Regions from separate parts of the Homo sapiens genome. Here region 1 is linked to region 2. The links are contacts of gene promoters, found by promoter capture Hi-C in blood cells and fetal thymus (Javierre and others, 2016). All regions are on one chromosome and are shown on one strand. Each heading gives the region's core, a stretch centred on a gene start or on the middle of the fragment in contact. The rest is flanking DNA. Distances are from core to core; before and after follow the strand shown. Region 1 overlaps HMOX2 (heme oxygenase 2). Region 2 holds the start of ALG1 (ALG1 chitobiosyldiphosphodolichol beta-mannosyltransferase).

Evidence for each region. Contacts are between HindIII fragments. The CHiCAGO score rates a contact against its expected background, and 5 or more counts as called.
Region 1: a contact is called between a fragment that was not itself captured here and the fragment with the promoter of ALG1 in region 2, in 1 of 17 cell types (neutrophils). The highest score is 7.2, in neutrophils.

Annotation. Positions count from the first base shown.
Region 1 is chr16:4,479,278-4,481,977 of GRCh38, reverse strand. The region is part of intron 1 of HMOX2 (heme oxygenase 2); the gene reads right to left. It overlaps LOC124903636 (a long non-coding RNA gene), which reads left to right. Exons shown (of 3, transcript XR_007064964.1): 2 at 99-214; 3 at 2,417-2,700. Among named protein-coding and RNA genes, the nearest start is that of HMOX2, 4.2 kb to the right of the region's middle. The HindIII fragment of the contact is 5,105 bases long and covers 1-2,700 here.
Region 2 is chr16:5,070,395-5,073,094 of GRCh38, reverse strand. It overlaps ALG1 (ALG1 chitobiosyldiphosphodolichol beta-mannosyltransferase), which reads right to left and starts at 1,252. Exons shown (of 13, transcript NM_019109.5): 1 at 1,038-1,252; 2 at 67-144. The coding sequence starts at 1,245. RefSeq lists enhancers at 793-852, 1,023-1,132, 1,163-1,222. The HindIII fragment of the contact is 10,202 bases long and covers 1-2,700 here.

The sequences.
Region 1 (2,700 bases), core at 184-2,683, 590 kb after region 2:
CTTCACCAAGTTTGCTTTTTCATCTGCCGTCAAACACTACTATCCACACTCAGCTTTGCTCATTTATTCCTTCCCTTCTCCCTCCTGCCCTCCTCCAGACTGCCACAGAGATAGTTCAAGGTGACAATGGCTCCTCTGCAGCAGCACATAGCAGTCTTGCCAGACACAACAGCAGATCAAGTAACTACTGAAGATGATGGCTACACTTGGACAGGTGACATTACATTATCATCAACAAACATTTATCACCCTCTTGAGTACTGTGACTACAAAGAAAGATAAGATCTTGCTCTGCACGTCAAGTACCTTTCAATCTAGAGAGAGAGTTAGGTGGAAAAATAAAAAGATAACATAAGGTGTACCATTCTATAAATATTAATTGTGCAATACAGACAACTGTGCTAAAGATAGAGCTTTATGTACCCGACTTTCCAGAACAATTCTGATTTCAAATACCCTGTTCCACCCAATTCTTTCAGTACACCTGTATGCTCAATGACAGGTGTTTCGCATAAAAATTATGATCATCACAGCTACTTATGAGGCCAGCCAGTCAACTAGATTAACTAAAATCAGGATGGCATTATAATGCCAGATTGTTTTATTTTTTTCTTTTTTTTTTTTTTTTTGAGACGGAGTCTCGCTCTGTCTCCCAGGCTGGAGCGCAGTGGCGCGATCTCTGCTTACTGCAAGCTCCGCCTCCCGGGTTCCCGCCATTCTCCTGCCTCAGCCTCCCGAGTAGCCGGGACTACAGGCGCCCGCCACCATGCCCGGCTAATTTTTTTTGTATTTTTTAGTAGAGACGGGGTTTCACCGTGTTAGCCAGCATGGTCTCGATCTCCTGACCTCGTGATCCGCCCGCCTCCGCCTCCCAAAGTGCTGGGATTACAGGTGCGAGCCACCGCGCCCGGACCAGATTGTTTTAATCACACTAGTACCTTCTTGCAGCCTCAGCACAGTGCTTTAATAGTAGGCCCTCTATCTCAGACATGAAAACATGAGCAAAAGCAAAAATACGAGGCCTGGCCGGGCGCGGTGGCTCACGCCTGTAATCCCAATGCTTTGGGAGGCCGAGGTAGGTGGATCACCTGACATCAGAAGTTTGAGACCAGCCTGACTAACATGGTGAAACCCCGTCTCTACTAAAAATACAAAAAATTAGCCAGGCGTGGTGGCAGACGCCTATAATCCCAGCTTCTCCAGAGGCTGAGGCAGGAGAATCGCTTAAACCTGGGAGGTGGAAGTTGCAGTGAACCAAGGTCACACCACTGCACTCCAGCCTGGGTGACAAGAGTGAAACTCTGTCTCAAAAAAAAAAAAAAAAAATAGTAGGCCCTTAGCCGGGCACGGTCGCTCCACCTCTAATTCTAATTGGGAGGCCAAAGTGGGTGGACCACTTGAGGTCAGGAGTTTGAGACCAGCCTGGCCAGCATGGTGAAACCCCGTCTCTACTAAAAATACAAAAATTAACTGGGTGTGGTGGCACACACCTGTAATCCCAGCTACTAGGGAGGCTGAGGAAGGAGAATCACTTGAACCCAGGAGGCAGAGGTTGCAGTGAGCCGAGACGGCGCCACTGCACTCCAGCCCTGGTGACAGAGCAAGACTCTAAGGAAAAAAAAAAAAAAAAGGCCGGGTGCTGTGGCTCACGCCTGTAATACTAGCACTTTGGGAGGCCAAGGAGGGTGGTTCGCTTGAGGTCAGGAGCTGGAGACCAGCGTGGCCAACATGGCGAAACCCCATCTCTACCAAAAGTACAAAAATTAGCCAGGCATGGTGGTGCATGCCTGTAGTCCCAGTTACTTGGAAGGCTGAGGCAGGAGAACTGCTTGAACCCCAGAGGCAGAGATTGCAGTGAGCTCAGATCAGATCACTGTACTCCAGCCTGGGTGAAAGAGCCAGACTCTGTTTCAAAAAAATAAAAAATAAAAAATAAAAAAGCCGGGCGCAGCGACTCATGCCTATAACCCCAGCACTTTGGGAGGCCAAGGTGGACGGATCACCTGAGGTCAGGAGTAGGAGACCAGCCCGGCCAACATAGTGAAACCTCATCTCTACTAAAAATACAAAAATTAGCCAGGCATGGTGGCATACGCCTGTAATCCCAGCTACTCAGGAGACTGAGGCTGGAGAATCGCTTGAACCCAGGAGGCGGAGGTTGCAGTGAGCTGAGATTGTGCCACCACACTCCAGCCTGGGTGACAGAGCAAGACTGTCTCAAAAAAAAAAAAAAAAAAAAAAAAAAAAAAAATAGAATAAGAAAAAGGCAGGCTGGGTACAAGATACTAGTCTGTTATGCCATTCTTCCCCACAGCCTTTTTAAAGTTACTGAGAACTATGACAGTAATTAGGCCTATAATACTCCTGGGAAGGAAACGAATCTATCTGTGAAACAAAAATTAATTTTTTCCCTAAGCTGAGTGAAGAGAATATCCACTTTGTTGGCTTCTGACATACACACTGACAGCACAGTTCACCAGACAACAATCACTCTTCTGGCGTCCCTTTCCCCAGGTATTCTATTCGCTTACTGCTCTATCTTCCCTGCCAGTCCACTCCCTCCTCTTTCCAGCCTGTGCCTTAGACAAGGACCCCAAACAAGGATCACCTGGGAAACTCCAAAAAACAGATTCCTAGTCATAATCCCAATTTTACCAAAAAAGAAGCGTTTGGAAACCCCTTAGATCGACAAGCAGCATC
Region 2 (2,700 bases), core at 3-2,502:
TTCAAACGAACACCCCCTGCCCCCAGCCCATGGATTCAGAGGATTCTGGAGTTGACGGCATCCTACCTGCAAGACTCTGAAGTTCTGTCAACCCCACAATCTGAATTCTGTTGTTCTGCAAGAGCTCATCATGGGGTTTGGAGTCTGAAAAATGAGAATGATCCCTTTAATGTACCAGAAGCAGCAATCTAAAGTCAGATAATCTCCCAACTCAGGCTGAATCACGGACAGTGTTTTGGAAAGTAAGATATTTCAAAACCTCTCTCTGCTCCTCACTAGCCAGAACAGAGAATGCGGCCAATTCTTGTTCAGATTGCTCTAGGAGGCACACAGAGATAGGGCCTGAATCTTACCTACCTTCACTTAACATGATGCCTGGCAAACAGTAGGTGCTCAATTAAACTAATCTAGATTGTCTGGATAGTGGAATTTTCCCACCACAGAGCCATCCCTAGGAAGTCCCACTCTACCCCATCACCCTAGGATAGCAGATTCTAAACAGGGATTAAAGGCAACTAGTGCTGTTCCCACTTCTTCCTGAGATGGGGTTGAGCTACCCTCTCAAGATACCAACGTGGAGAATAATGAGGGAGCAGACACCGCTGCCCTGCACACTGTGGGGAAAAGCTGGACATGAAGAACAAATGAAAACATCTGTCTGCAGAGCTCTGCGTTGAGGGATGAGGAATGAAATATCCTGTCAGCTCAGACATAGCCTGACAAGGGTAGCTGCACAGGGACGTAGCTACCAGCACTAGCCCTGGAGTTCCACGCACCTGGGTTCCACTTACTAGGAGAATTACGTGAGACCACGCAATGGATTCACTTAACACACTTCTGACACGTGGCAAGATTAACGCCGGCTATACCTAGAGACCCACCCAGGAAAGGCTGGGGCAGAACCGCTCGTCTAATCTCGGAGAGCTGCCCAAAGGCGGCGACTAAAGGAGCACTTCCGCCTCGACTCCCCGGGGCGGTTAGAACCGAGGATCAACGGCTGAGAGAGCATCGTCCCTCCCAGACCCTTGGCCACTCACTGCAGAACCCCAGGAGGGTCACCGAGAAGCCGTGCATGGCCAACGACAGCGCGTGGTACTGCATACGGGGGCTGCGGCCCACGTCGCCCAGCACCACCGCTACTACATGCCGGGCCGCCCGCCCCCGGCGCCAGCGCTTCCATCCTCCCAGCAGCAGCAGCGGCAGCAGCAGACACAGCGCCAGCAGGACCAAGCATGAGGCCGCCATCTTGGCTGGCCCGCAGCAGTCACGTGACCGCGCTTCCTCGCGCTGTGCGCAGCCGCAGACCGAGCCTCCGAAGTGGGCCGAGAGGGCGAGAAGTGGACGCGGTTCCCTAACAGGGGCCCGGGGAACCCCCAGGAGCCCCTCGGGGCCAAGAATTAGTAGTAGTAGGACACACGCACATACACCAGATTCCCTACACACCAGTGTATTTCCCCGACTAAAGTAAAGCTGTTACTGTATTGGGATCTAAGAACTCTCTTCAGGATTCAAAGATAATTTCAAAATATAGTGACACAAGAATTTGGATAAATTTCATCCTAACATTGATAAAGGAGCCAGATGCTGACGAGTACGAATTGTAGAGTTCCGTCTATGTAAATAAAAACCAGTCCTCGCTGTTAGAAGTTAGGGGCTGGTGGGTTCTGCTTCTGGATCTGGTGCTGGTAATGTGGGTGTGCTGCATTTGGGGCGGTACCTCAAGCAGCAGATTACCTGCCCATTTTCCAGGGTGTACATCACACTTAATAAAACATTTAAAAGGTAGAGAGGGGGAAGGACAAACAAGGAAGTAAACACCATCATGATTTTGCTTAAGTATCAATGGCTAGAAAGGAAATTTCCACAGTGACCCTCCAATTTCACCTCCCAAAGTAGCCATAGTGAGAGTTTAATGTGTGTCTCTGCGATGGCCTGTATTAGTCCGTTTTCATGCTGCTGATAAAGACATACCCGAGACTGAGCACTTTACATAAGAAAGAGGTTTCATGGACTTACAGGTCCACATGGCTGGGAAGGCCTCACCATCATGGCAGAAGGCAAGGAGGAGCAAGTCACCTCTTACATAGATGGCAGCAGGCAAAAAGAGAGCTTCTGCAGGAAAACTCCTTTTTATAAAACAATCAGGTCTCGTGAGGCTTATTCACTATCACGAGAACGGCACGGGAAACACCTGACCCCATGATTCAGTTACCTCCCACTGGGTCCCTTCCACACAACACATGGGAATTCAAGATGAGATTTGGGTGGGGACACAGCCAAACCGTATCATGACCTTTTTTCTTTGAAAGCGGTCCCTTGCAGAGAAACACCAAGAGCTCACTGGTGATGCTACCCCATTGCCTCCACTTGGGAGCTGCCGCAGAACCTGGAGAGCCACCACCCAGACCGTATTCAACAAACAAACAAGACTCCTCCCCTGATGAGGACCACAGGCAGCACCCACGGGACAGGGTAGCCCACATGGATGTGGCTCCCCAGTGTCCCTGGGCTCAGCTCAGGGCTTGGCACACTTTGCATCTGCTTTTCACAATTGCCCCATCACTCCCTTTCTATGGATTCAGAAGGGACAGCTCACGCCTTAAGCCAGACCTTGAAACCCGAGCTTTCAGAAGGAAAGGAAGGACGAGTAAGTATCTGCAGACAGCAGGGATGGGCATACAAACATGCTGGCAGCGGCAT